2 separate regions of the Homo sapiens genome follow, and region 1 is linked to region 2. The links are contacts of gene promoters, found by promoter capture Hi-C in human tissues and cell types (Jung and others, 2019). All regions are on one chromosome and are shown on one strand. The core of a region is centred on a gene start or on the middle of the fragment in contact, and the rest is flanking DNA. Distances in the headings are between cores, read along the strand shown. Region 1 holds the start of FSTL3 (follistatin like 3). Region 2 holds the start of MADCAM1 (mucosal vascular addressin cell adhesion molecule 1).

Region 1 (6,273 bases), core at 3,096-5,595, 180 kb after region 2:
CAGCCTGGCCAACATGGTGAAACCCATCTCTACTAAAAATACAAAAAATTAGCTGGGTCTGCTGGTGCATGCCTGTAATTCCAGCTACTCAGGAGGCTGAGGCAAGAGAATTGCTTAAACCCGGGAGGCAGAGGTTGCAGTGAGCCGAGATTGCGCCACTGCACTCCAGCCTTGGCAACAAGAGCGAAACTCTGTCTCAAAAAAAAAAAAAAAGAAAGAAAAAGAAAACAGGCCTAGAAGGGTCCCAGGGCCTGGCACACAGTGGGCACCCACGGCTGCTATAACAAATTTGCACAAACTGCCTGGCTTAAAGCAACACACGGGCTGGGCGCAGTGTCTCATGCCTGTAATCCCAGCACTTTGTGAGGCCAAGATGGGCAGATCACCTGAGGTCAGGAGTTTGAGACCAGCCTGACCAACATGGCAAAATCCCGTCACTGCAAAAAAAAAAAAAAAAAGTAGCCGGGTGTGGTGGGAGGCGCCTGTAATCCCACTTAGTCTGGAGGCTGAGGTTGCAGTGAGCCGAGATCGCACCTCTGCACTCCAGCCTGGACAACAGAGTGAGGCCCTGTCTCAAAAAAATAAAAATGGCCAGGCATGGTGGCTCACACCTGTAACCCCAGCACTTTGGGAGGCCAAGGCGGGTGAATCACTGAGGTCAGGAGTTCAAGACCAGCCTGGCCAACATGGCGAAACCGCGTCTCTACTAAGAATACAAAAATTAGCCAGTTGTGGTGGCAGGTGCCTACAATCCCAGCTACTCGTGAGGCTGACGCAGAAGGATTGCTTGAACCCGGGGGCGGAGGTTGCAGTGAGCCGAGATCGCGCCATTGCACTCCAGCCTAAGCAACAGAACGAGACTACGTCTCAAAAAAAAAAAAAAAAAAGTTCCACACGGGTCTGGCTGGGAGAAGATCGAGGTGTTGGCAGAGCTGCATTCCTTCTGGCAGCTCCAGGAGAGAATCTGTTCCGCGCCTTTCCAGGCTCCTAGAGGCCGCCCACATTCCCTGGCTTGAGCCCCCTTCCTCCATCTCCAAATCCCGCAATGGCAGCCAAGTCCTTCTCTTATCCTGTCTCTAACCATAGAGGGCAGGCGTCTCCTTTTTTTTTTTTTTTTTTTTGAGACAGAGTCTCGCTCTGTCACCCAGGCTGCAGTGCAGTGGCACGATCTCGGGTCACTTCAACCTCTGCCTCCCAGGTTCAAGTGATTCTCCTGCCTCAGCCTCCCAAGTAGCTGGGATTACAGGTGCACAATACCAGGCCCACCTAATTTTTTTGTATTTTTAGTAGAGACGGGGTTTTACCATGTTGGCCAGGCTAGTCTCGAACTCCTGACTTCAAGTGATCCTCCTGCCTCGGCCTCCCAAAGTGCTGGGATTACAGGCGCACACCACCAGGCCCACCTAATTTTTTTGTATTTTTAGTAGAGACAGGGTTTTACCATGTTGGCCAGGCTAGTCTCGAACTCCTGACCTCAAGTGATCTGCCTGCCTCGGCCTCCTAATGTGTTGGAGGTTCACAGGTGTGAACCTAATGTGTTGGTGGTTCACAGGTGTGAACCACCGCGCCCGGCCAGGCATCTCCTCTTCTACGGACCCTTCCAGGACAGTGGGCCATCCGTATAACCCAGGATGAACCCCTGTGTGAAAGCCCTCAACTCAGTCCCATCTGCAGAGCCCCTTTGGCCAGGGAGGGTGGGACACCCACGGGTTCTAGGGATGAGGGCCCCATGGTCTCTGGGACCGCCGTTCTGCTGACCACCCCCCACTGCTCTCCCCCTCACTCACAGCACAAGCGTCTGTTTCCAGCGCACACCCCTGCCGCTCCGTCTGACGTTCGAGTCTCAACCTCAACGTCTCTTTCCTCTGGGAAGCCTTCCTCAGTCTCCCCCAGGCCCGGGTCAGGCCTGGGGCACCTTTGCCATCTGGGCATCCTCCGCCACAGAACAACACTGGATTGTCACTGTCTGTTTACCTGTCAGGATGTACCTGGAGGGAGACAGAAGCCTGGGGGGTGAGCAGAGGCCACGAGGAGCCACGGTGGGTGTCTGAGCCAGGGAGAAGTGTTATGGCAGCTGGGGTAGGAAGTGGGCCGCAGGGGCCAGGCTGCGGGCTGGAAGTCCTAGGATGAGCCTCGGGCCTGGATAGGGTGGGGAGAGGGGCAGAGCCGGGAGAGGGGAGGTCATCACTGGGGTCTCAGGAGGAGGCGGCGCTCTGGAAAGGGTCAGTGACCTGTTAGAGGTCACCCTGCACAGAGCCTCTGGGTTAGGGAAGACAGAGCCGGGAGCAGGAGGCCACTGGCAGCTGGCCTCGGTTTCCCCGGAGAGGGCCGGAACCCACGCCAGCCAGACAATGACCCTTTGATTCGCACAGCCCAGGCCGGAGTGGCCAAGCCACGGCGGGGTCAGGTCTTGGCCAAGGTCACACTGTCCAGCCCCCGCACATCCTCAGTGAGAACACAGGGTCCCATCCCTGCCCCACTCCCCAATCCCGGGAGAGTCCCGGGGGAATGCCAGAGGCCAAGGCCAGGTCGAGACGGCGGGGTGTCCCCCGTCAGTGAGAACACAGGGTCCTGTGCCTGCCCCACTCCCCAAGCCGGGGAGATTCCCGGGGGAAATGCCAGAGGCCAAGGCCAGGTCGAGACGGCGGGGTGTCCCCCCTCAGTGAGAACACAGGGTCCCGTCCCTGCCCTGCTCCCCAAGCCGGGGAGATTCCCGGGGGAAATGCCAGAGGCCAAGGCCAGGTCGAGACGGCGGGGTGTCCCCCCTCAGTGAGAATACAGGGTCCCGTCCCTGCCCTGCTCCCCAAGCCGGGGAGATTCCCGGGGGAAATGCCAGAGGCCAAGGCCAGGTCAAGACGGCGGGGTGTCCCCCCTCAGTGCCACTAAGGCAGAACTTGGCCCCTGGCCACTGGCTGCTGGGGGACACAGGCTGGGCAGCTAAGGTGGAGGAAAGGGTACAGGTGTGTCTTCTGTGGGCACAGATCTCACTCAGGCCAGAGAAGGGGCTGTGCCGTGGGGCTGCTGGACACGTCCGTTTCCACCTGCGGGGTGGGCAATGCCGGCACAGCGAGTGGCCAGACACAGGCATGCCCAGCAGACACCCAACCGCTCTCCACCACCTCAACCTTCTGTATTTTCCTGAAAGCATTTACCACTCCTTGAAGTTATAGATTAATTTGTCTCTGCATTTTGTTGTCCAAACCAGGAGCTCGGTGAGGGTGTGATGGGGTCTGCCTTGGTCACCGTGGCACCCCAGCACCCCGCAGGGTCCCTCTGGCCAAAAGAGATGTTCACTGATGCCCTAGAAGCAGGAACAGAGGGGCTCCCCTGCGCTCGCCAAGGGCGCCTGACAAATCTGGAGGCCCCCATGACAGAATCAGCTCCAGAGTAGGAAATGTGTCTGGCTGCACGAAAGCCCCCTCGGGCGCAGCGCCTCCAGGCCCACGCAGATGTCGCTGTCATACATTGTTGGAAACGCCTCTGCTGGAAACAGTGTTTGCTGAATCTTGGAGGGAGAGGAAAAAACCTAGTAAACATTCTTGTTGAGGTGATCTGGGGGAATGTCTGCAAAGGCTTGGAGGGCTGATGGGGCAGAGCTGCCCAGGGGCCCAGGACAAAGGCCAGGCGTGCGCGCGCACACACACACACACACACACACACACACGCAGTGGCCTCCCTGGGGGCCGTGGCTGGGCGAGGCCTGCTGTTGTCCGAGATGCTGGAAGGAGCTGTGTCTCTGGGTCTGTCCCGGCCGCACCCCGTTCTGTCCCACACCCAACCACTCCCCACCCACAGGCCGGCTCCAGCGGCCAGGTGGACGGGTGCGCGGCCCGCGCTGTGAGCAGGGAACCATATCCAGCTGAGGTTTTGGGTGTGTGGGGCGGGTCGGGAACAAGGAGGCCGGGTTGGGGGGCTCAGACCACACTTGGACCATGAAAGTGACCACATGCAAATCACAGAAACGGGATGCAGGGATCCACAGACGTGCTCCTCTTGGGTCCCCGTTACCTCACCGCCACCCCTGAAACTGAAGACCCCCAAACCCACTTTAATTCCTGGAGACGGCCCCTCGATCCACCCAAAAGGCTGCCACCACCTCGAACCCACACCCCTGTCCCGGTTCCGCCCTGGGTCCAGCCACATCTCCCCAAATGCATTCTCTGGCTCCGGAAGGGGACCCGGGCGCTCGCCCCCAACTGCCCCCCGCAGCGGCCGGGCCCGGCGCCTGCCCACCCCGCGCGGGACACGGCCTCGCCCCCGCCACTCCCGCGCCGCGCCCCGCCCCGCGCCCCGCCCCGCCCGCGGCCCGCGGGACCTTTATAGGGAGCGCCGGCCGCGCGCTGGGAAGTCGGTGCCGCTGCCGTCTCTGCGTTCGCCATGCGTCCCGGGGCGCCAGGGCCACTCTGGCCTCTGCCCTGGGGGGCCCTGGCTTGGGCCGTGGGCTTCGTGAGCTCCATGGGCTCGGGGAACCCCGCGCCCGGTGAGTGGGGCGGCCAGAGGGGCGGGCGGGGCGGGCCACCCACGTGGGGCTGCGCGGAATGCGGCCGGGGGGACGTCGGGGGGCGCGGCGGCGGCGGCGGGGGCGAGGGCGGTGTCCGGCGCAAGCTGGAGCCGGGAAGGTCTGAAGGAGGGTCACCAAGAGGTCAGCAGAGCAGAGGTTTCTAATCACAATGACCGCTGACATTTATTGAGCGCTTAGTGTCTACCTCTCCCCTCCCTGAACCTGTGCCATCCCGATAGTGCCGGAGCTCTCTTCATCTCCGTCTTCCAGATGGGGAAACTGAGGCTCAGGGTCACACAGCCTGTAGCAGGCAAAGCCAGGGTTCTAGCCGCGACCGTCCGGGTCGGTCCTGGTGCCGAGAGGTAGTGCTGGGTGTCGGGAGCCAGGCCCTCCAGCTGGGGCTGAGAGCTTTCCCGGGTCCTGGGTAGACGGGGCATGGAGTCTCACACCTGGGACTTGCCGGGAGGTGCCAGGCAGGAGACGGCCCCACTCCTGGCCTCAGTTTCCCCTCCTATGATGGGTGCCAAGGTGCTGCGTTCCACAAGCTGGTCCCTGGCAGTGTCTGTGAACCAGCAAGCGCTCTGGGATGGGGGCTGTGGCCGTTCCTGCCCCCAGGGACGGGGGAAGAAATGGGGGGCTCTCTGGCTCCCCACCCCCCATCCCTGCAGCCCCACCCCACCCCAGCCCTGCGCCAAAGGGAGAGCAGAGCCCCCTCCCCGAAGGCCACGTCCCTGGGGAGACAGTGAGCTCATGCAAGGGGAATGTTCCCAAGTTGGAGTGAGTAAGAGGCGGGCCAGGCGGTGGGGGGGCTGCCAGGCGCGGGGCTCCGCGTGCCCTCGCCCTCGGGTGCTGTCTAGACAGAGGGCAGAGGCGGGAGAAGCGGCTCCAGGGCCTGCTGACCCTGACATGCCCAGTGCCTGGTGTTTGGTGGTGTTTGAGGGGTTGGGCAGGGTGCCAGCCCCTGGCCTGGGGGCTTGGAGGGTACGGGAAGGGACCTCCTGGGGTGGGTGGGGGTTGGTGGTGAGGCTGTGGGGGGGGGCACGTGGAGCTCAGAGGGGAGGAGACATTTCCAGGGTTCTGGAGCCAGGGTGGGGACACCCATGTGGTTTTCTGCCCCTTCTTCCTGGGTGGGGGTAGATCATTCCGTGCGTAACTACTCAGCACCACCTGCATGCATCTGTGGGCGGGCCAGAAGCTGGGTGTCAGGAGTGGCCCAGGAGAGCACCCCGTTCCCCGGCCCGCAGGTGGTGTTTGCTGGCTCCAGCAGGGCCAGGAGGCCACCTGCAGCCTGGTGCTCCAGACTGATGTCACCCGGGCCGAGTGCTGTGCCTCCGGCAACATTGACACCGCCTGGTCCAACCTCACCCACCCGGGGAACAAGATCAACCTCCTCGGCTTCTTGGGCCTTGTCCACTGCCTTCCCTGCAAAGGTGAGACCTCAGGCCAGAAGCAGGGCAGACGTCTCAGCTCAGGACCAGCCACAAACAGTCATGGTGGTCGAGGGCCGAACGTCCAGGGACTGAGCCCGTCACAGGGGTATGTAGGAGGCTGCAGGGGGATCCCAGCCTCAGAGAGGGACTGGGGGGACTTCCCGGTTCCCAGGCTCCAGCCTCTTGCAGCTCAGGACTCAGGAAGAGACCACGTGGCTCCAGCCTTTGCTGGGGCTGAGCTCTCTGCCTGGGTGGCTCTTCCCACCTGGTCGATAAATGTCTGGCTTGCACCTAGCTCCTGGGAAGGTGGGTTTGCCATTCTGGCCTGTGACCCCAAATGTC
Region 2 (6,611 bases), core at 1,043-3,542:
ACGGGGACTGTGAGCAGCGTGATCACCACGCGTGACCCAGCGGGCGGGCGGGGGACAGGGCCCTGGAGAGCTGGGACACACCCTGCAAGGGGCCTCAGCCCTCCTGGCGCCCAGTGGTCCCTCCCCACCTGCAGGAAGTAGGGTCGGGGGCTGGGAAACAGCCCATTCACCAGGCCTGCTGCCCCCCGCCCGGGTTAAGGGCCCAGCTTCCCGGGAAGGGCCTGCACCTCCGGCCTGGGGAGGGCCCCTCCTCGGAGTCTGCTTTCCGGTGAGGCCTTTCCCGGCACCAGCCTGGGCAGGAGGGGGATGGGACCCAGGGAGACAGGGCTGTGAGCTCACACACCTGGGCCCTCACCTCTGAGGGGACTGTTTCCCCACCCCGGGCCTCAGTTTCCCTCCTCTAGGCCTCAGTTTCTCTCCTTTGCACCCAGCCCCTCCTCTAGGCCTCAGTTTCCCTCCTCAGCACCCAGCCCCTCCCCCGAGCCTCATTTTGCCTCCTCTGCACCCAGCCCCTCCCCTAGGCCTCAGTTTCCCTCCTTTGCACCCAGGCCCTGCCCTGGATCTCAGTTTCCCTCCTCTGGTCCCAGCCCCACCCCTGGGCCTCAGTTTCCCTCCTCTGATCCCAGCCCCTCCTCTGGGCCTCAGTTTCCCTCCTCTGGTCCCAGCCCCGCCCCTGGGCCTCAGTTTCCCTCCTCTGATCCCAGCCCCTCCTCTGGGCCTCAGTTTTCCTCCTCTGGTCCCAGCCCCGCCCCTGGGCCTCAGTTTCCCTCCTCTGGTCCCAGCCCTGCCCCTGGGCCTCAGTTTCCCTCCTCTGACAGGTAAGCCGATTGGCAATGCTTGGAACCCCATGGACTGGCTGCTGCTTTTTATTCCATGGCCAGGGAAACTGAGGCACAGACAGACCCTGAGGTCAGCAGGAATGCTCCATCATTTTATTCCCGCGTGCCTGCGGTGCATGGGGTCCAGGGTCACAGGACCGGCCCCTGGGTGGAGGGGAGCCAGCCATCACGACTGCCACCACAGGCCCTCATTGAGCTAGGAGCAGAGCACCCTGGGAACCACAGCGGAGGAGGGTGGGGGGCGAGGGGGTGAGGGGGTGGGCAGAACCTGGGTAAGGTGAGGAGCAGCCCGGGCAGAGTCCCAGAGGCCCTGGGAGGGTCCCGGTGATGCAGGGGGGTAAACAAGCCACCAGCGGAGACAGAACCAGTGTGCGGGGCTTGGAGGAACAGGTGGGTGGATTCCAGTGCGTTTGGAAGATGAGGTTCCCAGGACTCGCTGATGGCAGCTGTGAGTGGGAGTCCAGCCAGCATCCCTTCCAGATCCCTCTTGTGGACCGAGATCCAGGTCTCAGTGTAGACCAAGGAACAGAGGCAGCCCCTACTCGGGCTCCCAGGCTCCAGCCAGGCCTGCTAGGTGGGCGGCCTCTGCCCGTGTGATGGAAGGAAGCCAGGCTCAGAGATGGGGTGACTTGTCCCACGTCCTGGAGGGTCTCACAGCTCCACCACGGCCAGGAGACTTCAGTCCAGGGGGCCTCCATCCCCAGCGACCTTCACCTGACCCCCAGGGGACCCCAGCCAACAAGACCCGGCCTGCAGCTCCGGAACGGGGGAGGGCTGCTCTCCACCGCCCCTGTGCGGCCGCCCGGGAAAGTGCAGGCGGGCCGGGCGCGGTGGCTCACGCCTGTGATCTCAGCACTTTGGGAGGCCGAGGTGGGCGGATCACCTGAGGTCGGGAGTTCGAGGCCAGCCTGCCCAACATGGAGAAACCCTGTCTCTACTAAAGATACAAAATTAGCCAGGCGTGGTGACGCATGCCTGTAATCCCAGCTACTGGAGTGGCTGAGGCAGGAGAATCGCTTGAGCCCGGGAGACAGAGGTTGCGGTGAGCTGAGATCGCACCATTGCACTCCAGCCTGGGCAACAAGAGCGAAACTCAGAAAAAAAAGAAAAGAAAGTGCAGGGGACCCGCCGTCGGGGTGGGGGCGGCGCTGCCCAGCCTCTGTCCCACTTCCATGCACTTGACCTCGACCCTCCGGCCTCCGTCTGCGATCTTCCCGTGCCTGAATATGAGGCTTGGAACAGACCCAGACCTTCCTGCCTGCCCGTCCTGAGTGGCCCCGGGACCCCGCCCCATCTTTGGCCCCCAGCCCCTGCCTCTCTGCCGCCTCCAGGGTCGGGGGTCAGGCCAGGAAAGCCCCTTGGGAAGCCCCCGGGGAGCAGCTGGAGCGGGGTCGCCGGGCGGCGGGAAGGAGTGGGCGCCTCTATTTAAGCGGCTTCCCCGCGGCCTCGGGACAGAGGGGACTGAGCATGGATTTCGGACTGGCCCTCCTGCTGGCGGGGCTTCTGGGGCTCCTCCTCGGTGAGAAGGGGAGGGGGCGCGGGAGAGAGGAGTGAGTTAGGAGGGGGCTCAGGAGAGAGGAGGGGGCTCAGGAGAGGGGAGGGGGCTCAGGAGAGAGGAGAGGGCCCGGGAGAGAGGAGGGGGCCCAGGAGAGGGGAGGGGGCTCAGTAGAGTGGGGGGGCTCAGGAGAGAGGAGGGACGCAGGAGAGAGGAGGGGCGCAGGAGAGAGGAGGGGGCTCAGGAGAGTGGAGGGGGCTCAGGAGAGAGGAGGGGCGCAGGAGAGAGGAGGGGGCGCGGGAGAGAGGAGGGGGCGCGGAGGGGAGGGGGCGCAGGAGAGAGGAGGGGGCGCAGGAGAGTGGAGGGGGCGCGGGAGAGAGGAGGGGGCGCGGGAGAGGGGAGGGGGCTCGGGGGAGAGGAAGGGGCGCGGTGAGCGGGGAGGGGACGCGGGAGAGAGGAGGGAGTTAGGAGGGGGCTCAGGAGAGGGGAGGGGGCTCAGTAGAGTGGGGGGGCTCAGGAGAGAGGAGGGACGCAGGAGAGAGGAGGGGCGCAGGGGAGAGGAGGGGGCGCAGGAGAGTGGAGGGGGCTCAGGAGAGAGAAGGGGCTCAGGAGAGAGAAGGGGCGCAGGAGAGAGGAGGGGCGCGGAGGGGAGGGGGCGCAGGAGAGAGCAGGGGGCGCAGTAAAGTGAAGAGGACTCAGGAGAGAGGAGGGGGCGCGGGAGAGGGGAGGGGGTTTGGAAGAGAAGGGGGGCTCGGGAGAGGGGAGGGGGCTCGGGAGAGGGGAGGGGGTTCGGAAGAGAAGGGGGGCCCGGGAGAGGGGAGGGGGCCCGGGGGAGAGGAAGGGGCGCGGTGAGCGGGGAGGGGACGCGGGAGAGAGGAGGGAGTTAAGAGGGGGCGCAGGAGAGAGGAGGGGCTCGGAGGGGGCGCGGGAGAGACGAGGGGTGCTCAGAGTTAAGGGGCTCCGAGATAGGGGGTGATTGGTGATCCTGCCAGAGGAGGGGGCTCGGAGGAGGCAGGGGCTGAGAGGGGAAGTTGCGGGGCTCCGCGCGGCCCCCTGACCCGCAGCGAAACTGGCTCCAGGCAGCTGGGGTTCGGGGGACTGGGGCAGAGGCGGCGGTCGGGGCGGGGTTCAGGGACCGAGCCTGGGAGTCCGGGTAGCGGCGGGGCAGGGGTCCGGGGGTGCAGCGGAGGGTCCGGGAACCGGGCAGAGGCGGGGCGGGGTCCGGGGGTGGAGCGGGACGCAGGGCCGGTGGCGGGGCGGGGTCCGGGACTCCGCGGGGCTGAGCGAGAGCCGCGGTCGCCGCAGGCCAGTCCCTCCAGGTGAAGCCCCTGCAGGTGGAGCCCCCGGAGCCGGTGGTGGCCGTGGCCTTGGGCGCCTCGCGCCAGCTCACCTGCCGCCTGGCCTGCGCGGACCGCGGGGCCTCGGTGCAGTGGCGGGGCCTGGACACCAGCCTGGGCGCGGTGCAGTCGGACACGGGCCGCAGCGTCCTCACCGTGCGCAACGCCTCGCTGTCGGCGGCCGGGACCCGCGTGTGCGTGGGCTCCTGCGGGGGCCGCACCTTCCAGCACACCGTGCAGCTCCTTGTGTACGGTGAGGCGTCCCCCCGCGCCCTGCCTCTCTGACCCTTGGACTCCCGGCTCCTTCCCTATGCCACCTCTTCCTGGAAGCCTCCCAGATTGCAGGCAGGGTCCCAGCTCCATGCACAGCTCCCCGAAGCCAGGTCCCCGGCCTTCGCTTCCCTCCAACTCACCCCAACTCTCCCAGGGCCGGCCCTGGCCCATCCTCCTGTCTATTCCAGCCTCCCAGGGTGGGGCCACGGGGCCTGCGCACAGGCCGTCCCTACTGCCTGTTCATCAGCAGCCCCCACGCATCCTTGGCCCCAGCTCCAAGCCCCTCCGGGCTCCGGCCCCTCCATCACGTCCAGCCCTGACTCTGGGCTCAGCCCTCACCCCCGACCCTCCATCACAGCCTTCCCGGACCAGCTGACCGTCTCCCCAGCAGCCCTGGTGCCTGGTGACCCGGAGGTGGCCTGTACGGCCCACAAAGTCACGCCCGTGGACCCCAACGCGCTCTCCTTCTCCCTGCTCGTCGGGGGCCAGGAACTGGAGGGGGCGCAAGCCCTGGGCCCGGAGGTGCAGGAGGAGGAGGAGGAGCCCCAGGGGGACGAGGACGTGCTGTTCAGGGTGACAGAGCGCTGGCGGCTGCCGCCCCTGGGGACCCCTGTCCCGCCCGCCCTCTACTGCCAGGCCACGATGAGGCTGCCTGGCTTGGAGCTCAGCCACCGCCAGGCCATCCCCGGTGAGTCCGCTGGGTGCCCTGGAGACCCACCCGCTCGCCAGCCTTGACAAGCACTTCGGGACGGGGTGGGGGGGTGGGGGGGCAGCACCTGTGCTGTGGGGCGCTGGGAGGACTGGATTCCCCCACGCAGCGACAGCGACATTCATCGACGCAACATGTATTTGCCGAGCACCTGCCCCCCAGCACAGGTCCCACCCCTCCCCTGCCCACAGCGCTCCATGGCTCTTGCCTTGGGGTCAAAGCCCAAGTCCTCCCGGGGGCCCACAGGAACCTGCACGACCTACCCTGTCCCCTTCCTGTCCTCCCTCCACCCTTTCTCCCCCTCCTCATTCTGCTGCAGCCACACGGGCCTCCTCGCCTCCTCGCTGTTCCTCCAACACACCAGGCGTGATCCTGCCCCGGGGCCTTTGCACGGCTGTGCCCTCTGCCGGGAATACCCTTCTTCCGGATCTTTCCACGGCTCTCTCCTCCTCCCCCTCAGGTCTCTGTAGAATGTTGCCTCCTCCGTGAGGCTTCCCTGGATTCCCGTTTAAAGGGTCAACCCCTGATCCCCAACGTGTACAAACATAGGCACACAAGCACACACATGTACAAACACAGACACACACACGCGTGCACACAGGCACACACGCACACGCGTGTACAAACAGGCACACAAGCACACACGGGAACAAACGCACACACCCACACGCGTGTACAAACACAGGCACACAGGCACACGCGTGTACAAACACGCACACGCGTGTGAGCCCCCTTTCCCTTCTGTTTCGTTTCTTGACACCTTGGATAACATCTGACATCCCCCAGTCCCGTACATTCTCTTTTCCATGACCTTCTCCCACTGTGGCTCCCCAGGTGGGAATCTTGTGTCGCGCACGGCTGTGTCCACAGAAGCTAGAACAGGGCCTGGGGCATAGCAGGTGCTCAATAAACCCTTGCTGAATGCTCGGATGAAGACATTTAATGTGGGCCGGTGCCCTGGCGGTGCTCCCTTCACGCTCTGTCCAATCCCGAAGCCCCTGCCGGCTTCTCCCACTAAAGAAAAAGGGATTTGTCCTCCCATGGGGCACCCTGATACCCATGTTAATGGACGTGAGGTCGTGAGTTTCAAGCAAAGGGCTCCCGGGGATAAAGCAGAAGCTGGGAGACCCGGGAGGTCTTTGTGGTGGGGGTGGGGCTGGGGTGGGCAGAGAGGAGGCTGGATTTGAGGGATATTTTACAGAACACGGGCCCTCACGGGCCTCAGTCTCCCCATCAGTCCCACAGGGGATGGAGCAGAAGGCCAGGGCAGAAAGCCCCCAAGCACCTTCTCTCTCCACGCCAGCCTCCTCCCAACTCTCCTCGTCCACAGCCCATCATAATAAACGCGGGACCCACTCGCTCTCAGGGCAGCCCAAAGAGGTGACTCTCACCCCTTTGACAGTTGAGGAAACTGAGGCACGTGGAGATTAAGGAGGCTGCTGGGGTGATGTTGCCAGTGAGTGGGGGACCTGGAATGCCCGGACTCCCATCCTGCCCACTGTGGTGCCTCAGCTTCCTCATCTGTCCAGTGGACTTCCCTGACTGTGGGTCCTTTGTAAATTTCAGGGACCATGTGGATTTCAAAGCACTTTATAAATTATAGGCTTTAGGCCGGGCTCACGCCTGTAATCCCAGCACTTTGGGAGGCTGAGGTGGGTGGATTACCTGAGGTCAGGAGTTCAAGACCAGCCTGGCCAACATAGTGAAACCCCATCTCTATTAAAAATACAAAAATTAGATGTGGCCAGGTGCGGTGGCTCATGCTTGTAATCCCAGCACTTTGGGAAGCTGAGGTGGGTGGATCACGAGATTAGGAGATCGAGACTAGCCTGACCAACATGGTGAAACCCCGTCCCCTACTAAAAATACAAATATTAGCCTGGCGTGGTGGTGAGCGCCTGTAATTCCAGCTACTCAGGAGGCTGAGGCGGGAGAATCGCTTGAACCCGGGAGGCGGA

The links. Contacts are between HindIII fragments. The study calls those that stand out against the background at their distance.
Region 1: the fragment with the promoter of FSTL3 here is called in contact with the fragment with the promoter of MADCAM1 in region 2 in 1 of the 25 tissues and cell types used here (lymphoblastoid cells).

Annotation. Positions count from the first base shown.
Region 1 is chr19:672,047-678,319 of GRCh38, forward strand. FSTL3 (follistatin like 3) reads left to right here and starts at 4,346. Exons shown (of 5, transcript NM_005860.3): 1 at 4,346-4,480; 2 at 5,746-5,931. The coding sequence starts at 4,378. The HindIII fragment of the contact is 14,894 bases long and covers 1-6,273 here.
Region 2 is chr19:494,194-500,804 of GRCh38, forward strand. MADCAM1 (mucosal vascular addressin cell adhesion molecule 1) reads left to right here and starts at 2,293. Exons shown (of 5, transcript NM_130760.3): 1 at 2,293-2,358; 2 at 3,640-3,924; 3 at 4,303-4,632. The coding sequence starts at 2,307. MADCAM1-AS1 (MADCAM1 antisense RNA 1) reads right to left here. Exons shown (of 3, transcript XR_936221.4): 3 at 5,576-5,667. RefSeq lists a silencer at 1,611-1,660. The HindIII fragment of the contact is 26,139 bases long and covers 1-6,611 here.